2 separate regions of the Homo sapiens genome follow, and region 1 is linked to region 2. Evidence: promoter capture Hi-C in human tissues and cell types (Jung and others, 2019). All regions are on one chromosome and are shown on one strand. Each heading gives the region's core, a stretch centred on a gene start or on the middle of the fragment in contact. The rest is flanking DNA. Distances are from core to core; before and after follow the strand shown.

Region 1 (5,457 bases), core at 2,827-5,326, 60 kb before region 2:
TGGCTCAGAATAAGCCTCTTTAAATATTTTAGAGTTTGTCAACAAAATTAAAAGAGCAAAGAACTGTATGTGTGGTAAGAAATCTCTTCCCTGTTTTTCTATATTTTTGAATTGACTTCTCCAAGTATGTTGCAGAGTACCTGTCCCATATGTAAAGCCACGATGGTTAGCAGTAGCTCTAACGTACTGCTATGACCCAGGGTCATCCAAGTGTCTCAATTTTTATTTTCTTAGCTTTTTAAAATTGTTACCTACTGCATTCCAGAGTGTTCTTAGAGTTAACTCACAGAAATAAGCATTTAAAAATTTCCCATGCATTATCATGGCTCAAGATATTATCATAAATCTTTTTGCCTTATTATTATTGTATTGTCTTACATATCCTTACTTCCCTATTTACTCCTGGAGTTTGAGTAAACTCCAGGTTCCAAAGTTGTTATTATCCCTCTACTGTCACAAAATCAGAGTGTCCAATTCTAGTTGCTGTAACTTCACCTATTTTCCAGATATCACCACAAACAGATCTTTTGTCCAGAAGGAACAGGTATAGAGAAACAGAGGCACTTCTATAAAATAGATAACCGTATTATCCCATTTTGTCACAAATCAGCCACATGTAGCCACTTGGTGTGCAGCAGTCTCAACTAAGTTGTCATTGTACTTATCATCTAGAAGCATGTCAGTCCAACATGAGAAGCCAGGTAACCAAACCAGAATTAAATTTAAATTCCTTAGGTACTCTTTTGGCCAGACTACCATCTGGAGATTGTACCAACCAACTGGGTCTGGGGTTGCTGTTAGGGGAAAGAGAAAATCATCATATCCAGAAATAGATCAGAATCTTGAACATCCCAAATAAATTAATAAAACCCTCATTTCTTCCTGATTTTTTTTTTAGCCAGGAAGTGGCCAGAGGAGATTATCCCTTTTTGTAAACAGCCACATTAAGTAAACAAACTGCTTTATGAAACTATGAGGATCAGTAGAAAGTGAGAGAGGTAGAGTCAGAAATCTTTTTGAGTTGATATTTAAAACCTGTTCCAATGTTCAAGAATCCCAGATACCAGTAGGTGGTAGAGGAGAATGGGGAATCCACTGAATGATTTGACGGCCAGGCCATTGTTGAGCTGCCTTTGCAGTAAAACACGCATTATTAAAGCAAAAGGTCAAGAAAGCCAAAAATATGACACAAGATTAGCTTCAAGAACCTCAATGCTGTGTCTGCAGTTAGCTGATTAGACAGGAACAGGAACAGCAATGTTGTTGCCTAAAACTGGGGTCAACACTGGTGAGACAACGCAGCAAACCTCTATCCAGCAAGGTTCTGAAGATTCACCTGGTTTCTGCCCACAGTGGTTGTGAATTTACCTCCTTTATCACTGCAAAGAGGAGAAGGTAAATTCACAACCACTATGGGCAAAAAACAGTGCCTCTCTGTGAGAGTTGTCTGTTAATTCTTATCAAGGTGAATCAGAAGAGATGACAACATTCGTTTGTTTATCTCTTCTTCATAGTGTCATGGTACCTTTGACATTATTCAGTGTCTTAAACCAGAGAATGTCTAATGTTGGAATTTTAAGTAGGGCAGAAAATCTACATATTTGCTCTACCAAGTGTATTAGTCTGTTCTCACACTGCTATAAAGAACTGCTTGAGACTGGGTAATTTATAAAGAAAAGAGGTTTGACTCACAGTTCCACATGGCTAGGGAGGCCTCAGGAAGTTTGCAATCATGGCAGAAGGGGAAGCAGGCACGTCTTACATGCCAGCAGGTAAGAGAACATGTGAACCAAGCAAAGGGGGAAGAGCCCCTTACAAAACCGTCATACCTTGTCATACCTTGTGAGAACTTACTATCATGAGAAGGGCATGGGGGAAACTGACGCCGACCTCCCCCACCCCACCCATGATCCAAACACCTCCCACCACGTCCCTCCCTCAACACCTGGGGATTACAATTAGAGATGAGATTTGGGTAGGGGCACAAAGCCAAACTGTATCACCACAGTACTGTCAAATAATGACAAGTTTGCAACCGTTTCTATGTGGGGCCAATTATGATAGAAAATGTTACTGCCTTTGCTGCTTTATCTGATAAGTATAAGCAATAGTATCACCATTTGTCATAATAATACACAGACTGAACATTTGTAAGATACTTCACATTTTACAAAGCAACTTTCATGTTACGATTTTATCCACCTTCTTAAACACCCCAAAGGAAGGTAATATTTCTTCTAACAAATGAAAATATGTGGCTTATTCATTATTCAACCTCAAAGCAGCAAAACCAACATAGAAACTGGGGTCTTTGATACAGAAATCTGGTGTTTGTGCAGAGCTGTCATTAAAGCTTTCCTCCTAGAAGGAAAGTATGACTAAGGTCTTTTGTTTTGTATATGTTGAGATCTTGCCATGCAGCTTGTAAATGTTCACAAAAAGCATGGGGAGTTTTGATACTTAATTACAAGATTGGGTCAACTAATATAAAGCCCTGGATTCTCAAGTTCTCATTAGATACTTTTGATGTTGGAGGTTATTGTGTGTGCCAGTGGATGCAGAAGGTTGATTTGGCCCAGCCTGTCATTCCCCCCTCAAGCCCCCCAATTACCTGGATGATGTATTGGTAGAATAGGCAATGCTACTGAAGAATTCTTTCATCTGAGAGTGAAGATGAAAACAAACCAACACATTCTCCCTGCATTGTTCACTAGCTTTTTGTTTTATCCTCCTAAGGTTTGATGTTTGATAATGAATAAATTAGGATAAAATGTGAATGCACCCTCTGTAAGGACCCAGCGGGAAACATTGGCTGTTGAGCCAGATCTCAATCAGCAAATGAAAGGGGTTCATTTTGGCATCAAGACCAGGCCTGTGAAGTCTGCATATTTAGAAGAAATTCAAGATGAAAAAGGAAATATGTGTGCATGATGTTTATGTGTATGCAAGAGAGATAGACTTAGAAAAGTTTCAATTTTATGGAAACATCACAAACGAGATAAGCAACTTAATTTCCTTATTATATAATTTATATATAAAAAATTCATCATTTCACTATTGTTGATTAAAGTGGCATATTTTACTAGCGCACATAATGTTTTACCATTTGGAGGCTGAACATCTTTTGAAACTCATACACATCTGTAAAATACCTACATCGTTGGCATAAACTGTTGCTCATCTTCATGGAGACAACTTGAGCCTGATTTAAAAAAATTGTATGGAAACTGGTTTTATATGGAATAACATGAACAGTCATGAAATTGGTGTTAATACTTCTTCTTCTTTAGTATGATATTTAGATCTGCTTCTCTCTTCCTGGTCTATATGCATTCCTTCTTTCAAAGGTTGTGATATATTGTTATTCTAAGGACAGTGCCCTAAGGAATTTAATTACATTAATTTAAAGCCAGGATCTGAGGCTAACAGCACTCATACCTCAGATAGTATGTGGTCTGATGCTGTTACCTTTCTCCTCATACCTGCCCTCCACAAAGAGCTGTCACATGACTTTGGCACCTCCCAATTCTTCCCCCTGTCACTCAGCTTTTAGACAGAAGCTGGCTTTTTTCTGTAGTCCTTTCTTCACCTAGCGCATGCCTGAAGCCTGGAAGCTTTGCTGCAGGCTTAAATTCTTAAGTATGTAAGAGGTTATAGCCATTCGAGGAAAAATACCAAATAGGCAAATATGTTTTTCTGGCATGTTCTCCCTCTTCCCATATTATTTCAGACTCTAGGACCTGCTACGAAATGAGCCTTGAGGAAAGGATGTGCTGCTGGTGGGCAGACACTCATTTTTTATATATACACTCATTTTTTGTATGTATGCATTACCTGTTACTTCTTCTGGGCTCATTTAAACAGTGAACTCTCTTTTAATTGTATCACTTCAAACTGAATTTCTAAATGAAAAAAATCTGAGAGTCTAGCTAGCATGTTAGATGGATATTTTGGGTGGCAAAGACACTTTCCCAAATAACCTATCACAGATGATGTCTCATGCAACACTTGTATGTAATATGCAATGAAGACATTGTTCCTTTGGAAAGTAACTCAAGATCTTGTACCCTGAGGCTGCTACTGTAGTTTTGTTTCAGGCCTTGAATACACAGCCTTAAGTCTTGTCCTCATTTATTTTATGTGATAAGTGACCTGGCTCGAAGCAGGATCAACTCATTTTTAAATAGAGGCAAAAAGGAACATATAGAGAAATATACGTGGCAGGTTCATTACATTATATGGACATCACAACAATAACATTTTTTTCTTTCAATCTGTAATTAGATAAATTTTCTCTTTTGAAAACATGAAAAAGGAAGATGTAGATAAGGCAGCTAACTTTTGAAATAGCCTGGTCAAATGACATTTTAAAAAGAAATTAAGGTTTTTCTATTCCTTTGAGAAAATTTTTATACTTAAGAATTTTAATAATTAGGATTTCTTAAAGGGACAGGAAATGTAACACAAGATATAATGCTATGTATTATACATTCAGTGAGATTAAAAATACACTGAATTAAAAGTACTTTTCTTTTGTGTTATATCTGACTGTGATTGACATTCAATATATTTACTTAAATTTTTCCCTTGACCTCTTTTCTTCTCATTTCCTTTTTCTTTATGACTATAAAGCTGAGATTTTTATCTGTTAATTAGTAGCTTAAACTTCTGATGTTAGAGTTGCCTGGGGCAAGCAAACATAAATGGTTAAGTATTACATTCCTACCATATAATTAACTGACTTTCCATATGTGAAAAAAGAAATGGGAGAAAGGGAGGGAAGGGAGAGAAAGAATGGAAAGGTGTTACAGGAAAAGTATCCATCAAAGGAAAATGTATTATATTACTAAATAAGTTGTATTTCTTTATAATATCACTAGGTGGCATATAACTGACTCGAACAAAAAAACTAGAGGAGAGCCAGGAAAGTTGATTTAAAAAAGAAAACAAAAAAGCTATATCTGGGAGTTGTCTGTATTTGTTTATTTGCCTATACATTTGGCAGCTCACAACTCAGATACGTCAGATTTGTATCGGGGATCAAGTGATATAATACATGTAAAAGTGCCGTTAGTGCCTGGTGTATAATTAGCACTAAATATATGTTAATTTTGTGTTACTAGTTGTCGTAGAAAGCATTTTTTGTTGCTTATATTGCCATTCAAATGTATAATCTTATTAATAAGAGTGGGTAAGAATTTCATTAACTAGGAATATGTTTCCAAGTGGTTTATAGATTTAAAATAAAAAATATGAAATGACAAAGTCATAAGCATTTTGAAATATTTTCTAATTATTTTAAATTTAGGTAAATATTAATGTCTTGTGAAAAATTAGATCCATTCAAATTCAAGAAAGGGTTCATAAATGTGCCTACCAAGACTCATCACCATGTACTGAATTCAAGTTTCTAAAATCTAGAAGTATAAACATATGTATCTGTATTACACTCATAGC
Region 2 (5,395 bases), core at 2,225-4,724:
TTCCCTCCTTTCTGATACTCTGCCCTATAAATTCTAGCCTCCTTCTCTGCCTCCTCAACTCAGCTTGTCTTCAGGGCTCTGTTTGGCTTTCTTCTCTCTGTGTTAAGTCCTGAAACTGCCTCCAGGTTGTAAGCTGGGGAAATTGTAGTGATCAATTCATTTACTTCTCTTCTCTCCTAAGTCATAACCCTAGGCTGCCTGTTGTCCAATGTCTAAAAACTTTTATTATGTTTTCTAATTTCCTAAGGTGAGAGTTAACTATGGTCCCTGTAATTCCATTATGGCCAGAACTAGCTTAGGACTTGATGTCAATTTAGATGTGAGTTCTACTGGGAGTTGGTATCTTCATGGAACTCAGTGAAAGGGTTCTTTGTATTTTCTCAAGATTTTAAGAATTTGGTTGGGGGAGGGCGGGTGGATTTAAGATTAGCTTAGGTTAATTTTAACCTAGGGTAAGATTAGGTTGTGAGGGGCTTAGTACCAGTGAGTGAAGAGAATAAGGGAGATTTGACAGCATCAAGGCCAACTTTCTATATGGAGAAGCCTGGATTATAAATGGCAATATCAGCACCAAAACAGTTGATTCCACTTACTCTGATGCTTTGTCATTTACCTCTTCTCCTTCTGTCCTTATTCTGAGAACACAAAAGCAGTGCTCTATTGGTGCTAGCTACCATCTGGTGACATATATAGTGATCTGTCTTACCAACATATTTTTCCCAGCTGCTCTTTTCTTTCCTCTAAGGTTGGTAATGCACACACATGCCTCAGTCCTGCCTTTTCTTCTCTATTTCACCACACACAGTTTACTCAATTCCAAATTAGGCTAGTTCTTTCTTTTATATACATAGGTACTTGAATTCACTTTAACGGACGCTCTCACTTGCATATCTAAGTCTCTCCTAGAGCACAAAAATTCCCCACACATTTCTCTCTTAGGCCTGTTCCTTCTGTAAACCAGATAAGTCATGTTGATAGTTGCTAATCACCAGCAGAGTTAGTGTTGCAACTCCTGATCAAGGAATTCAAATTGGAACAAAATACCATAGACAAATCAATTTCTATCACTTTCTAAAGCACCTTGGAGAGAATTTCCTGATAATTTCTGAACCTATTCAGTGTAAATCCTTGAATTAGTCAGGGTGATATATAAAAGAAATCATTCCTACCTTTCAAAAACATTGATAGTCTAGTAGGAGAAATAAGTACATAAGTCATTAAAACCCAAATGACTTATAAATGTCTCTAAAATATGTAAATAAATTATAACAGTATTTCAAAAGGGAAAAAAGAGAAGAGTTATCTGGGAATTAGACAAATCTTTCCATAACAATATTAACCTTTACCATGAAGGATTGGTAAAGATTATATATTAGTGGGAAAAAAAGGCAGCAATGCAAACTTACATTGGTAAGCTGTGCTTCTGAGTATATTTAACTTAGTTATACAACTCATTTGGTTTTAAAAAATCATGAATGTACTCTAATAAATATATACAATTTAATATGCATTATTCCTTCAGTTCTGCTTTTTGTTGTTGTTGTTAAAATATGTGTGAGAAACGTGTTAAGACTCATCTCCTACTGGAGGTGTTTCATTGAAATTAGCTTTCAATCTAAATAGCTTGCTATACTCAAAAAATAAACTGCCTCTGATTTTTTGCCTAGCTTTAAATCTGTAAAATTGAGTCTCATGAAAAAAAGCATTTAGGTTTCTAAGTAACCCAGATATTTCTTGAGCATCTGGAAACCCACATGTTAGTTACTCCAGCATTAGAGATTTTATAAGACAGCGTTTAGAGGCAGATCACTCTTGACAAAGTCACCTTGAGTGTTTTTGCCTTTGTTTCTAAACTCTGGACAACTCAAAGAAAGTATTATAGGACTCAGCTAATTCAAACAATGGCTTTCCTTTGAAATAAGATCGTCTGCTTCCCTTAAAGGCATAGTAGTCACCTTTGACACAAGGAACAGAAGGTAAAATAACAAAGGAAGTGGTGAACCAACCTCAGTTCTGGAATTAAAAAAAAAAAAAACTGATTTGCATTAATTATCATTTCTAGGTGTCTGGCCTAGTCCAGAGGATGCAAATGGCAGTTCAGATCAATCATCCTTAAATCGGATGTGAACGCTTTGATGTGGCTGAGGGAGAGTTGTGGAAAGGGGAGTAGGTACCATGAAGAGAATTGCAACAAAGGAAAAAAAAATATATGGGGTTGAATTGCCCCAAAGAGGACAGAAACAGCAAAAACATATTTTTTTATGTACAAGTAAAAAGTACAGAAGACAAAATAATCTCACCTGGTCTGAGATCTTTAGAATATAATGTTTAATGTTGATTCCCTTACTCTTACTCCTTTTAGGACTCGTGTGTGTGTGTGTGTGTGTGTGTGTGTGTGTGTGTGTGTAATGGGGTGGGGTAGGGGAAGGAGAGAAACTGATAGTACTGATGAATGGGGAGCTAGAAAGACAAGGAAGGAAAAGAGGCTCTGAAACCTAAGGGTGCCTACTGTCCTGGGAAACTTTAAAGCATATTCCATGACGAATTACATTATCTCCGGGCTTAGAAAATTCCGAAAAAGATGGGAAGACAAATCAAAGGCCTTTGATAAATGAGGCCTCAGTTTTGTGGTCAAGTCTGCACTAATTTTTGCCTTGTGTGATGTGCGAATTTGACAAAAAGAGGCGCTGGATTGAGGAGTGGGATGGGAAGGGGGAGGCACCTCTACCTGCACACGGGGGCAGGGGATGGATGCAAATCAGGCCTTCCCGAGTGGCCAATCAATAGTCAGGTGAGGGATTTTGGGTCCCCACCCCATCCCAACCGGCGTTTGAGCACGTGCACGGTGTTCTGGGACCTTTGTCCCGCAAAGTCACGCTTGGCGGGCACCCCTTGGTCCCTTTTTCTGGTCAGATGTGCTTGATTCTTTTCTGCTCTACAACCCACCTCTCTAGTCGTGTCTTCCCATCTCCCTACTCATTCCCTCCCGCGCCGCTGCGGGTGAGAGCCTTCAGCGGTGCGTCCTAAGGAGCGTGAGGAGTGTGCGGAGCTTGGCACACCAAGTTGCTGAGACTGTGACACCAGCCTCCGCCCGTTCCGCGCGGGTGCAGGCGGCGAGCCTCGGCTCGGACACCACAGCTCTCCTGCCCGCGCCGGGCAGTCCTCTGCCTGTCCAGAGGCAGCACTCCCGGCTCTCGGCTGGCTGTGGGTCTGTCTTGTGGGGCTCCAGCACTAGCCTGCTCGGCCTCGGAAACTCCTGCAGCGTCCAGAACACAGAAAATAGACTCATCTCCTAATTCGCCAGGGAGCTCGAGGGCTGCGGGGCCGCGGGGCTGCCTCCCCCGCTCCTCCCCCAACCCGACCCCACCCCACCCCCGCCAGGGCTTCGGCGGCCTCCCGGAGTCACACAGCCTACCCCCCCACCCCAACACCCCCTCCCCCGGCAGACAAAGGGCCTGGGCAAATTCGCCGCCCGGCCTCCTAGCGCTCCGGGGAGGCCGCTGCGCCCCGGAGTGGATCGCGCTGGAGGCGTGCGCCGGGCGAGAAGCCGCGGCCGCGGGAGCGCAGTATGGGGAAGAACCGCGAGATGCGCCTGACTCACATCTGCTGCTGCTGCCTCCTTTACCAGCTGGGGTTCCTGTCGAATGGGATCGTTTCAGGTAAGTTCTTCCGTGACTTTCTCGCTTCCTTTCCAGCCATCCCAGCGGAGACCGCGAACGTACGGGTCGGCAGGGCTGGTGCAACCGGTGCGTGGAGAGCAGGGCTCAGTGGGTAGCAATAAAAATGAGCTTGAGGTGCAGGTTAAGGGGTCAAGTTCGGAAATGAAGCACACTTCTGCCGGCCTCGTTTTAACCGTATGTGGAATAGTTTCCTTCTAATTAGAGCAATAATATTTGCAAAGGTACGTTTACAGCACCTGGAGGAAAATTAGAACGTACCTAAGTTGATAGCAACGCTCTGCTCTAGCATACACTTCAGAAATCGTTTACTCGTGCTGGAGTCTTTGCATCGGTTTTCTTTTCAACAATGAAGTGCGGTCACCAAACTTTGATTCCCCCTCCCCCGCCCCTAATATAATCGTACTTTTACTCTGAAAATGCTGGGGTCTGTAATCTGATCGCAAGGCTTCTGGGGTTGCAGAGTTTCAGGGTCTAGACGGGTGGTCTCCATTGCATTCAACGCGAGCGCCCTGTATCTATGGACTGTGAGCTTGGAAATGTTTGTGCTACTGGAACCGCGGCACTTTAAGCCCCGCACTTCTGTCTGCCCCGCCCGCAGAGCTGCAGTTCGCCCCCGACCGCGAGGAGTGGGAAGTCGTGTTTCCTGCGCTCTGGCGCCGGGAGCCGGTGGACCCGGCTGGCGGCAGCGGGGGCAGCGCGGACCCGGGCTGGGTGCGCGGCGTTGGGGGCGGCGGAAGCGCCCGGGCGCAGGCTGCCGGCAGCTCACGCGAGGTGCGCTCTGTGGCTCCGGTGCCTTTGGAGGAGCCCGTGGAGGGCCGATCAGAGTCCCGGCTCCGGCCCCCGCCGCCGTCGGAGGGTGAGGAGGACGAGGAGCTCGAGTCGCAGGAGCTGCCGCGGGGATCCAGCGGGGCTGCCGCCTTGTCCCCGGGCGCCCCGGCCTCGTGGCAGCCGCCGCCTCCCCCGCAGCCGCCCCCGTCCCCGCCCCCGGCCCAGCATGCCGAGCCGGATGGCGACGAAGTGTTGCTGCGGATCCCGGCCTTCTCTCGGGACCTGTACCTGCTGCTCCGGAGAGACGGCCGCTTCCTGGCGCCGCGCTTCGCAGTGGAACAGCGGCCAAATCCCGGCCCCGGCCCCACGGGGGCAGCATCCGCCCCGCAACCTCCCGCGCCACCAGACGCAGGCTGCTTCTACACCGGAGCTGTGCTGCGGCACCCTGGCTCGCTGGCTTCTTTCAGCACCTGTGGAGGTGGCCTGGTAAGCGCCTTCTTTCCCTAGCTCTCCATTTTCCCCTGCTGCTCCTCTCCTTGCCCATAGGTCAGGATGATTTGCATGCACCTTCTCCCCTTTCAGTGTGCTCCTTTTGAGCTTGGCCCTAGACTGCACCCCCAGGTGTCTACATCGTTTGCCTCCCATGGAACATCTCCAGGGCAGTTGTGTAAATCGGAAGTTTAATTGGGTGGATAAATGGCCTTCTCCTTCCAGATGGTTATGTGTCTTTCAAAACTGCGTGAAACTCTGCCTTTTCGTAACTTCTTCCCAATGGCTCAACTTCTTTCTGTTCTCCAGAGTTTTCCAAACTAAGCGCTCCACGTGATGTCTTTTAGGAACTCGAAAGACAACCAGTCGGCTCACTGATGAATCTCCTTCGTGTTTGCGCCGCACTCTCAGTTCCTCATCTGTTATCTTAGAGCTTTTTCATAACCTACTTCAAAGTT

What was found. The method cuts DNA at HindIII sites, captures the fragments that hold promoters and counts their contacts. A contact is called where the count stands out against the background at its distance.
Region 1: a contact is called between a fragment that was not itself captured here and the fragment with the promoter of ADAMTS19 in region 2, in 1 of the 25 tissues and cell types used here (adrenal gland).

The regions. Positions count from the first base shown.
Region 1 is chr5:129,395,723-129,401,179 of GRCh38, forward strand. MIR4460 (microRNA 4460) reads right to left here and starts at 1,425; the gene lies at 1,340-1,425. RefSeq lists an enhancer at 2,381-3,369. The HindIII fragment of the contact is 6,025 bases long and covers 1,065-5,457 here.
Region 2 is chr5:129,456,824-129,462,218 of GRCh38, forward strand. It overlaps ADAMTS19 (ADAM metallopeptidase with thrombospondin type 1 motif 19), which reads left to right and starts at 3,475. Exons shown (of 23, transcript NM_133638.6): 1 at 3,475-3,659; 2 at 4,279-4,934. The coding sequence starts at 3,569. It overlaps ADAMTS19-AS1 (ADAMTS19 antisense RNA 1), which reads right to left and starts at 3,866. Exons shown (of 2, transcript NR_125748.1): 1 at 3,602-3,866; 2 at 2,736-3,256. RefSeq lists an enhancer at 2,434-3,396. The HindIII fragment of the contact is 8,605 bases long and covers 1-5,395 here.